Regions from separate parts of the Homo sapiens genome. Here region 1 is linked to region 2. The links are contacts of gene promoters, found by promoter capture Hi-C in human tissues and cell types (Jung and others, 2019). All regions are on one chromosome and are shown on one strand. Each heading gives the region's core, a stretch centred on a gene start or on the middle of the fragment in contact. The rest is flanking DNA. Distances are from core to core; before and after follow the strand shown. Region 1 has its middle 5.2 kb from the start of ZNF567-DT. Region 2 holds the start of ZNF383 (zinc finger protein 383).

Region 1 (5,792 bases), core at 2,551-5,050, 540 kb before region 2:
CTATTACAAACAAAGATGAAAGGTTAGTGTTGGTGAGGATGTAGAGAAAAGGAACACTGTTGCGAGCACTGTAAATTACTACAGCCATTTTGGGAAACAGTGTAGAGCTTCCTCAAAAAACAAAAAATAGAATTACCATATGAGCCAGCAACCCCACAAGGAATTGACATCAGTATGTCAAAGATGTCTGCACTCCCATGTTAACTGTAGCATTATTCACAATAACTAAGATATGGAAACAAGCTAAGTGTCCATCAATGGATGAATGGATTTTTTAAATGGAGGATATATACACAGTGGAATACTATTCAGCCTTAAACATGAAATTCTGTCATTTGCAACAACATGGGTATACCTAGAGGATATTATGTTAAGTGAAATAAGCCAGACACAGAGAGACAAATACTGTATGATCTCACTTACATGTGGAATCTAAAAAGTTGAACTCTTAGAAGTAGAGAGTAGGAGGGTGGTTACCAAAGGTTGGGGGGTGGGGATGTGGTGGATGGGGAAAGGGGAAATGCTGGTTAACAGGTACAAAGTTTTGTTTAGATAGGAAGAATACATTCTGCTGTTCTTTTGTCCAACACAGTGACTATAGTTACTGTATTGTATATTTCAAAATAGCTAAAAGATAGGATTTTATATGTTCTTACCACAAAGAAATGGTAAATATTTGAGGTAACGGATATGCTAACCAGCCTGATTTGATCATTCCATCATGTATTGATGCATACAAATATCACATTGTACCATATAAATTATACAATTATTGTACAAATATATACATCAATATACAATTGTACATACAATACATACAATTGTTGTACAAATATATACAATTATTACTTGTCAATTAAAAATTTTAAAAAAGAAATCTGAAATAACAGTTGCCCCCTATGAGCATCTCACGATAAATCCCTTTAATCTCCTCTACATATACTGAGTATTAAAAAACAGAATCGTCTAGAACATTGTTGCTGTTCTGAGACCTGTCTTTCTCATTTAACACAAGTGAACATTTTTCTTTGTCAGCAAGTAGCGGTAAACATCATCCATTCTAATGGCTGTATTTTTTAATAGGTGGAGTTGTATCTTCAGGGCAGATTCCTAACAGTGGAATGGCTGGGTCACAAGGGAAATGTGTAGGTAGTTTTTGTACATGTTGTCAAATTTCCCACCATAAGGGTTGTGCCGGTTTGTTTTCCCACCATCAGTGTATGAGACTGCCTGATTCCCTGTACATTCATTCCTGTGGCTGCTCTAACAAGTTACCACAAACTTGGTAGCTTTAAACAATAGTTTACTCTCTCACATTCTGGAGGCCAGAACTCCAAAAATCTAGACATCAGCAGGGCTGGAGCGCTCCTAGAGATTCTAGGGGAGAAGCCTCACTTTGCCTCTTTTTCTGGTGGCTGTAGCCATTCCTTGACCATTCCTTGACATTCCTGGCCCCATCACTGAGATTTCCACCTCCGGGGTCACATTGCTGCCTCTTCTTCCTCTGTCTGCCAGTCTCCTTGTGTCTCTTTTAAGGTTGCTTGTCACTGGATTTAGGACCCAACCCACCCAGACAATCCAGGATGAACTACTCATCTCAAACTTCTTAATTTAATTTCATCTGCAAAGACCCTCTTTCCAAATTAAGTAACATTCACAGTTTCCAGAGATTAGGACATGGACATATCTTTTTGCAGGGTCATCAGTCAGCCGACTATATCCTGTCTCACCAACAGAATACATTGTTATATTTTTTAATTTTTGTCATCTTGATAGGTTAAAAATGGTCTCAGTATTCCCCCTCTCCCCCTGCCAAGAGACAGGGTCTTGCTTGTTGTCCAGGCTAGAGTGCAGTGGTGCAATCATAGCTCACTGTAATCTCAACCTCCTGGCCTCAAGCAATCCTTCCACCTCAGGCTCCCAAAGCACTGGGATTACAGGTGTAAGCCACCTCACCTGGCCTGTCTCCATATTATTTTAATTTGTATTTCTCTTTTTACACATTTAAGGGTCCCTTTTACATATTTTTTGTGAATTGTTAATTTCTCTTACCCATCTTTTCTGTCAGGTTTTTGGGTCTTTCCCTTGACATTAAGAGGAGTTTTGTTTCTTTGAGACAAGGTCTCACGCTGATGCCCAGGCTGGAGTGCAGTGGTGCAATCACGGCTCACTACAGCCTTGACTTCCAGGGCTCAAGTGATTCTCCCACCTCAGCCTCCCAAGTATCTGGGACTACAGGCACACAACCACACCCAGCTAATTTTTTGTATTTTTTTGTAGAAATGGAGTTTCACCATGTTGCCCAGCCTGGTCTTGAACTCCTGGGCTCAAGCGATTGGCCCACCTTGTCCTCCCAAAGTGCTGAGATTACAAGGTGTGAGCCACTGCACCTGGCCAAGTTTTCTTTTTTTTTTTTTTAATTGGGAATTGTTATAGACTGATTTGTTCCCCCCCAGTTCATATGTTTAATATTATTAACTATAGTCATCATGTTACACAACAGAACACCAAAACTTATTCCTCTCATATAACTGAAACTTTGTATATACTGATCAACCTAACTCCTAATTTCTAGTAGTATAAGACTTAAGACATACAACCAGATATATGTAGAGAGAGTGAACAAGAGGGAAGTAACAAAATAATTACATGATAAAGGGTGGGTGCTATGGCTCACACTTGTCATCCCAGCACTTTCAGAGGCTGAGAGACAGGGGGATCACTTGAGGCCAGGAATTCAAGATCAGCCCGGGGAACATAGTGAGACCCCATCTCTATAAATTTTTTAAATTGTCTGGGTGTGGTGGTGGTATGCACCTGTAGTCCTAGCTACTTGGGGAGCTGAGGCTGAGGTGGGAGGATTGTTTGAGTCTAGGAGTTTGAGGTGGCAGTGAGCTATGATAGTGTCACTGTCACTCTAGCCTGGAGTACAGAATGAGACCCTGTCTCAAAAAAAAAAAAAAAAAAAGGTTAAATTACAAGCTACTACTATGTACAGCAACATGGATATAATGTTATCTATATGTATCTATATACTTAGAAATAATGTTGAGCAAAGGAGGTCAGACACAAGAGTACATACTATATGATTCCACCTATATGAAGTTCAAAACCAAACCAAACTATTCTATTATAGAGGTCAAACTAATGGTTAACTTTGAGGTATAATGATTGGGAAGAGATATGAGGGAGCCTTCTGGGATGTTGGAAAGTTTCTATGTCTGTAATGGCGGTTGCATGGGTTTTTTTTTTATTATTTTATTATTATTATTATTATTATTTTTTTTTTTTGAGACGGAGTCTCACTCTGCCGCCCAAGCTGGGGAGCAGCGGCACCATCTTGGCTCACTGCAAGCTCCACCTCCCAGGTTCACGCCATTCTCCTCCCTCAGCCTCCCGAGTAGCTGGGACTACAGGTGCCCTCCACCACGCCCAGCTAATTTTTTGTATTTTTAGTAGAGACAGGGTTTCACCATGTTAGCCAGGATGGTCTCAATCTCCTGACCTCGTGATCCGCCCATGTCAGCCTCCCAAAGTGCTGGGATTACAGGCGTGAGCCACCACACCCAGCTGGGTTTATTTTTTTAAAAAGCCAGCACGCTATAATTTTAAAATTTGTGCTTCCTCTCTCTCTCTTTGTGTGTGTGTGTGTCTGTGTGTGTGTGATTTCATGTGTTCATTTCTTTTACTCACTTTTTCTATCGGGTTTTTGGGTCTTTCCCTCGATTTTAAGAGTTTTTTGTTTTTGTTTTTTTGAGGCATGGTCTCACTCCAACGCTCAGGTTGGAGTGCATTGGCACAATCACGGCTCACTACAGCCTCAATATCCTTGGGCTCAGGTGATCCTCCCATCTCAGCCTCCCAAGTAGCTAGGACTACAGGTGCACCACCACACCCAGCTAATTTTTTGTATTTTTAGTAGATACGGGGTTTCACCATATTGCCCAGGCTGGTCTCAAACTCCTGGGCTCAAGTGTTCCACCCGTCTCAGCCTCCGAAAGTGCTGGGATTACAGGGGTGAGCTATACACCCTCAAAATAAATGGCATATCTGCATTTTTAAATCACATTTTTCTACCTACAAAACCAATTTTCTTTCAGTTCTGGTTTTTGTTTCTGAAGCCCATATTTTATTACACTGAATGAAACCTGTGCATGGGTAATTCATTTAAATAAATATAATTTCTACTGGATTGGTGGATTTAAAAGACTAATGATGGCCAGGTGCAATGGCTCACGCCTGTAATCCCAGCACTTTGGGAGGCCAAGGCAGACGGATCACAAGGTCAGGAGATGGAGACCATCCTGGCCAACATGGTGAAACCCCGTCTCTACTAAAAACCAAAAATTAGCCATGCGTGGTGACATGCGCCTTGTAGTCCCAGCTACTTGGGAGGCTGAGGTGGGGGAATTGCTGGAACCTTGGAGGCGGGGGTTGCAGTAAGCCGAGATCATGCCACTGCACTCTAGCCTGGCAACAAGAGTGAGACTCTGTCTCAAATAATAATAATAATAAAATAAAATAATAATAAAAGACTAATGATACCATATAGTAGCGAATAGACATTCTCATAGTATGTTGAATATTGGTGCAAACTTAATCAGGGCAATTGATATAGATGTGTAAACAGGTTTTAACTATGAAAACCTCATTCTCAGCAAAATATCTAAGACTATCCAAAATATACAATTCACATGTGCACAGAAAAGGCATATGCAGTAAAACATTGCATATAATGGGAAAAAGCTGGAAAGAACTTACATATACAAACAGAACAGTGCAGCCATTAAAAGATTATGACACAGTTCATAATTTAGTGACATGAAAATTTGTTCACTATATTTTGTTAGAAGAAACAAGTAGATTTCAAAACAATTGTTATATAACCCTGTTTTGAATGAAAAAGTCCTATAAGCCTATATCCATGCACTTATTCACAAATGAGGTGAAGTGATTTGGAATAAAGTGTTCAAAGTGCTTTACTTTAAGCTTTTTTTAATATTCTCCAATCTTCTGAATTAAGAATCTACTAATTTTACAATGAGAGAAATCTGCTTTGAGAGCAGAAAAAATAATAATAAAAGGAGATATGTGTATGATACATGGAATGCAATGTTGAAATGGTCTGAATTCTGGCTGAAGAGACCCAAACTTTCTTCATAGACATTCCAGAGCACTAATTCAAATACTGCCTTAAAGGTCCTAAATCTAGAATCCTAAGATTTTATACACAACGAGTTCCTCTTATCAGTTGCCTCTCATTTACCTGGGCACAGAACTGCTGTTAACCAACCTCTTCACGAACTATTGCTCCAAGAAGGAAATCACATCTGGTTTGGACATAAATTAATAGGGTAATTAATAATAAACCCTTCACATAGGCAAAGAAATGGAATTTTGGTCTGATGTGGCTATGGAGAATTGAGACCATTCCTTAATCATCAAGCAGAAAGAAGTCAAGAAAGTATTCTGAAGGATTAGGATGATAACACTTTAGAAATAACACAGGAGAGACGCCCATTTCCAACTCTAGGAATCTTAAACCAGTCCTTCAGAAAGTTACCTAAGAACCCTGAAGTTTCCCTAATCAATCAGGGTGAAGAAAGTAAGATGTTCCCAGAATACAGAATTTGAACTGGAAAGGGGAAAACAGATGTAAAAAGGGAGACCCGGCTGGCCGAGGTGGCTCATGCCTGTAATCCCAACACTTTGGGAGACTGAGGCAGGCAGATCACGTGAGGTCAGGAGTTTGAGACCAGCCTGGCCAACTTGGCGAAACCCCATGTCTACTA
Region 2 (6,054 bases), core at 3,555-6,054:
ATTTCCTTTTCTTTTTTAGACGAACTATATGTTACACTGTTCTATACTTTCCATTTTTTATATATTCCAGAGTTAATGTCATTCCGTAGAGAGCTTCGTTTTTTTTTTTTTCTGCTGTGTGTGTATGGGCTGCATAAAACTTTATGATGTGACTGTGGTGATTTGAGCTGCTACCTTTATCAAATACTAAGCATCTATGTGGATGTTAATTTCTTTTTTTTTTGAGATGAAGTCTCACTCTGTCACCAGGCTGTAGCGCAGTGGCACAATCTCAGCTCACTGCAACCTCTGCCTCCCAGGTTCAAGCGATTCTCCTGCCTCAGCCTCCCGAGTAGCTGGGACTACAGGCGCGTGCCACCACACCCAGCTAATTTTTGTATTTTTAGTAGAGACGGGGTTTCATCATGTTGGCCAGGATGGTCTCGATCTCTTCACCTCATGATTCACCCGCCTTGGCCTCCCAAAGTGCTGGGATTACAGGTGTGAGCCACCGTGCCTGGCCGGGATGTTAATTTCTTTCTTTCTTTCTTTTTTTGAGACGGAGTTTTGCTCCTGTTGCCCAGGCTGGAGTGCAGTGGCTTAATCTCGGCTCACTGCAACCTCCGCCTCCCAGGTTCAAGCAATTCTCCTGCCTCAGCCTCCTGAGTAGCTGGGATGACAGGCGCATGCCACCATGCCCAGCTTATTTTTTGTATTTTTAGTAGAGATGGGGTTTCATCATGTTGGCCAGGCTGGTCTCGAACTCCTGACCTCAGGTGATCCACCCACCTCGGCCACCCAAAGGGCTGGGCGTGAGCCACCGCGCCCGGCCATGGATGTTTATTTCTCCATTTCCCATCCTCCTCCCTTTGTCTGTCTCTCTAACCACACACAAATAGCACACTGTTTTAAGTATAGAGGCTTTATCATGTACCTCATATAACTTCATGTAACTTCAATTCTACTTTCTGTCTCTATGAATACACCTATTCTAGGCACCTCATATAAGTGGATTCATACAATATTTGTCCTTTTGGTCTGGCTTATCTCACTCCGCATAGTGTTGAAAAAGAAAATAAATGGCTTTTATCTGAGGAATGCAAGCCTTCTTTATGTGATCAAGCCCAGAGAGGGGTTGGGATGACACAGCTGTTGTGGTGGCTCATGCCTGTAATCCCAGCACTTTGGGAGGCCTCGGTGGGAGGATTACTTGAGGCCCGGAGTTTGAAACTAGACTGGGCAACATAACTAAACCCTCTCTCTATAAATTTTTTTTTCAATTAGCCAGGTGTGGTGGTGTACACCAATAGTCCCAGCTACTCAGAAGGCCTAGGCGGAAGGATGCTTAAGTCCAGGAGTATGAGGCTGCAGTGAGCTGTGATCATACCTCTGCATTCCAGCCTGGGAGACAGAGCAAGACCTTGTCTCTAAAAAAAAAAAAAAAAAAAAAAAATGCTGGGTGCAGTGGCTCACACCTGTAATCCCAGTACTTCGGGAGGCCAAGGCAGGCAGATCACTTGAGGTCAGGAGTTCAAGACCAGCCTAGCCAACATGATGAAACCCTGTCTCTACTTAAAAAAAAAAAAAAAAAAAAAAAAAAAAAGGAAAGAAAAATTAGCCGGGCATGGTGGTGGGTGCCTGTAATCTCAGCTACTAGGGAGGCTGAGGCAGGAGAATCACTTGAACCCAGGAGGCAGACGTTGCAGTGAGCCGAGATCCCACCACTGCACTCCAGCTTGGGCAACAGAGGGAGACCCCATCTCAAAATAAATAAATAAAAATTAAAAAAATAAATTAAAAATTAAAAAAAAGAAATGAGTTTTTTCTGCTCTAAAATCAAAAGTTTGCAAGCTGCATTCCTTTCTGGAGGCTCTGGAGAATTTGTTTTTTTTCATTTTCCAAGTTGGAGAAGCTGCCTGCATTCCTCAGCTCATGGGCTCCTTTCATCTTTACACCCAATAATGGCTGGTCGTGTGTTTCTCACAGCACACAATTCCAACACTGACTTTATGCCTTCTTCCTCATTTCAGACCCCATGTGATTACATTGGGTCTAACTGGACAATCCAGTATAATTCCCCTATGTTAAGGTCAGCCGATTAGCAACTTTAATTCTACCTGTTAATTTAATTCCACTTGCCATGTAACATAGCATATTCACAAGTCCCAGGAACTAGCATGTGGGTATTTTGGGGGGAACATTATCCTGCCTACTTTAGATGTTGAGGTCATTCAAGAGGAAAATGATAGTTTTGTTAACATGTGATGTTAGAACAACTGAATTTCCATCTGGAAAATAATAACTTTGAACATTACCTCACATACACAAAAACTAACTTCAAGTGGATGATAGACCAAAAATAAAAACTAAAACTATACAACCTTTAGAATAAAACATAGGAGAAATTCTTCACAACACTAGAGGAGTCAAAGATTGTTAGAAAGACCAGAAAGCATGAAGCACATTTTAAAGATGAGAAATTGGATTTCATCAGAAGTAAAAACTGCTTTTTGAAAGACATCATGAAGAAACTGAGGGCTGGGCACAGTGACTCACACCTGTAATAACACAGTGAGACCCCATCTCCACAAAACACAAGAAAATTAGTTGGGGGTGGTGGTGCACACCTGCAGTCCCAGCTACTCAGGAGGATCGACTAAACCCAGGAGGTCAAGGCTGTGGTGAGCTATGTTAACACCACTGCACTCCAGACTAGGCAACAGAGCAAGACCCTGTCTCAAAAAAAAAAAAAAAAAAAAACTGAGAAGGTAAGCCCCAGGCAGGGAGAGAATATTTGCAATTTGCAATATGTATATTTGGCAAAGGACTTTTACCCAAACATATAAAGAATTGTTACAACTCAATAATAACCAATTTTAAAATAAGAAAATTTTATTTATTTATTTATTTATTATTATTTTTTGAGATGCAGTTTTGCTCTTGTTGCCCTAGCTGGAGTGCAACAGTGTGATCTCAGCTCACAGCAACCTCTGCCTCCCGGGTTCAAGTGATTCTCCTGCAGGGATTACAGGCATGCACCGCCACGCCTGGCCAATTTCGTATTTTTAGTAGAGACGGTGTTTCTCCACGTTGGTCAGGGTGGTCTCGAACTCCCAACCTCAGGTGATCTGCCCGCCTCAGCCTCCCAAAGTGCTAGGATTACAGGCGTGAGCCACTGCGCCCAGCCGAATATTTTCAATAGATGTCACAAAAGAAGATAAAAGAATGGCAAATAAGTATATGAAAGTATGCTAAGTTCATTGACATCAGGAAATGCAAATTAAAAACATAATTTGATACTACTGCTCATTCCTTAGAATAGTCAATAGATGCCTGATGTGGGGTTTGGGAGGTGGGGATTGACTTAACAATGTGGGGGGCAGAGGGCGGTGAATAAAAATATTCTATATCCGCCGGGCGCGGTGGCTCACGCTTGTAATCTCAGCACTTTGGGAGGCCGAGGCGAGCGGATCACGAAGTCAGAAGTTCGAGGTCGGGAGTTCGAGACCAGCCTGTGAGCTCGAACCCTGTCTCTACTAAAAATACAAAAATTAGCCAGGCATGGTGGCGGGCACCTGTAATACCAGCTACTCGGAAGGCTGAGGCAGGAGAATCGCTTGAACCCGGGAGGCGGAACTTGCAGTGAGCCGAGATCTCGCCACTGCAGTCCAGCCTGGGTGACAGCTAGACTCCAACTCAAAAAAAAAAAAAAAAAAATTCTATATCCAGTAACACTAAGGATAAATGCTTGAGGGGATAGACACCCTATTTTACATGATATGATTCTTACGCATTGCATGCCTGTATCAAAACATCTCATGTACCCCATATACAACTACTATGTACCCACAAAAATTTAACTAAAATGCTTAAAAATTTTTTAATTTTAAAAAATATTCTATATCCTGATTACGATGGTGGTGACAAGGGTTTAGACATGCGTTGAAGCTTACCGAACAGTTCACTTAAAATGAGTGCATTTTATTGTATCTAAATTATTCTTCAGTAAAGTTGATTTTTAAAAAACATGCACACAAATATAATTTACAAACTATAACATTAGCTCGTTTATGGTGTACCATTCAGTCACTTTTAGTGTATTCAGAGTTGTGCAAACATCATTATCTAATTCAAGAAGCTTTGCATTACCCCAAAAATGAACCCTTTAGCTATTACCAATCACTCACAGTTCCCCCTAATCCTGCTAGTCCTAAAAAACTCTAACTTACTCCTTTTCCGTAGATTTGACTATTTTAAATATTTCCTATAAATGCAGTCATACAGTATGTGGCTTATCCACGGATGAAGGCAAAAATGACGATTTAGTCAGTCTAGCATTCTCAGAGAGCGTTATAACGCCTAGTACAGTCCGGGGTCCTGGGTGCGTTCTGCACTGAGTCGGCTTGGGGCAGGAAGTCATTTAAGCGACCTCCTTCCACTTGCCCCAGCGCCTCACCCCTTCCTGCTCTAGACTACAGTTCCCAAAAATCCTTGCGGCTCTAGTCAACATCTGGCCCGAAGCTGGCGACCTTTTCCTGTTTCTCAGGGAACTCCCTGGGGTTGGCCGGTACCATGGAGGAAGATTGTCTTCAGCGTGCAGGGCCAGCGTCCTACGGCAGTTTCACTCTGAGCCTGTGTCTGGATCACGGAGACGCGGGGTAGCGGTTCGGAGTGCGGAGCAGGGATGTCCCCGAGCTGTGCAGCTGCAAGAACCCGAAAAAACAGGCGCCATCTTCTCGGCGCGGTCCTACTCCGGACTGTATTTCCCAGAGGCCCCCGCGAGTCCAGGGCAGCCCCTTCATTTGCCTGCTGGACCCTCCGCCTCAAGGGTAGGGGAAGTGCGCGGTGAGCGGCCTGGGTCTTGCAGGCTCGGCTGGGGCCCGCAGGTACGTGCATGGGAGTTTGAAGGGACTGACCAGGCTGGTCTGGAGTGTTGGGCATGTATGAGTGTGTCGGGCATGTATGAGTTGGTCGGGCTGATAGAGGGGGTGGTGGGGAGGCGGGCGCGAGGCGTGGGCTTCCGTGTGTGAGTGTGACCTTATGTGACTGTGCCTCTCTGTGTGCGCGGGTGTGATTGTATATCCTCGTTGTAGTTGTGTAATTGTAACAATGTAAGGCTGTATGTGTAGGTATGACTGTGTCCCGTGTTGGGACTGTGATTGTGTGTGGCTGTGTAACTTTGCGTGACATTTGTGGAGGGTGTTTGTGTGGAGAGAATCTGATGAGGCTGTGACTGTGTGTTAGTCTGAGGGGTGTGTGTAATTGTGTTTGTATGACTGTTAGCAGCACTTAAGTGTACTGGATGCCTTACTGAGTAAATCTACTACCCAGAAATAACCCAGTAACGTGAGAATGTGAGAGTGTGACCATGTAACTTTATGTAGCACTGTGTCTGCGGTTGGAAAGTGCGTGTAATCGTGCCGGGGTGATATGTGTGTCCTAGTGGTCATTGTGTTATTTTGAATGTGTGATTGTGTGTAGTGCTCAATAGGGGTCCTGGGGAGGGGGGAACTGTAACTTTGTGTGGCTCAGTAGTGCGTGTGGTATTGTGACTATCTGTAGCACTCTGGTTCTGAATGGTGCTATGTTTGAGGGGTCTGTAAATATGCTAGTGTAACTTATCCTCAAGGTAGATGTGGGACAATGATTGTGTGACCATATATAGTGTTATTGTTTGGGTGAGGCGTGCCTGTGGAGGTCTATGTGGGTCCCCATGGTGGCTGGGTGACTGCAGCATTGGGTAGGGGGTGCTTGTGACTGTCTTTGTGACTCCAGCTCTCCCTGTGAGGTCAGGACAGATTCTCGAGAGGAGAGACCTCACCCCTCTGATACCAAGAATGCTCATGACAGCCTACACTTCTCTGTTTTTGTTTTGTTTTGTTTTAAGGCGGAGTTTCGCTGTTGTTGCCCAGGCTGGAGTGCAATGGCGCAATCTCGGCTCACCGCAACCTCCGCCTCCCCGGTTCAAGCAATTCTCCTGCCTCAGCCTTCCTAGTAGCTGGGATTACAGGCGTGTGTCACCACGCCCTGCTAATTTTGTATTTTCAGTAGAGACGGGGTTTCTCCGTGTTGGTC

What was found. Contacts are between HindIII fragments. The study calls those that stand out against the background at their distance.
Region 1: a fragment that was not itself captured here is called in contact with the fragment with the promoter of ZNF383 in region 2 in 2 of the 25 tissues and cell types used here (hippocampus and pancreas).

Annotation. Positions count from the first base shown.
Region 1 is chr19:36,679,335-36,685,126 of GRCh38, forward strand. It overlaps a transcript of ZNF567 not described here. Among named protein-coding and RNA genes, the nearest start is that of ZNF567-DT, 5.2 kb to the right of the region's middle. The HindIII fragment of the contact is 6,888 bases long and covers 357-5,792 here.
Region 2 is chr19:37,213,410-37,219,463 of GRCh38, forward strand. ZNF383 (zinc finger protein 383) reads left to right here and starts at 4,805. Exons shown (of 6, transcript NM_001387601.1): 1 at 4,805-4,865. RefSeq lists an enhancer at 4,431-4,920. The HindIII fragment of the contact is 10,545 bases long and covers 1-6,054 here.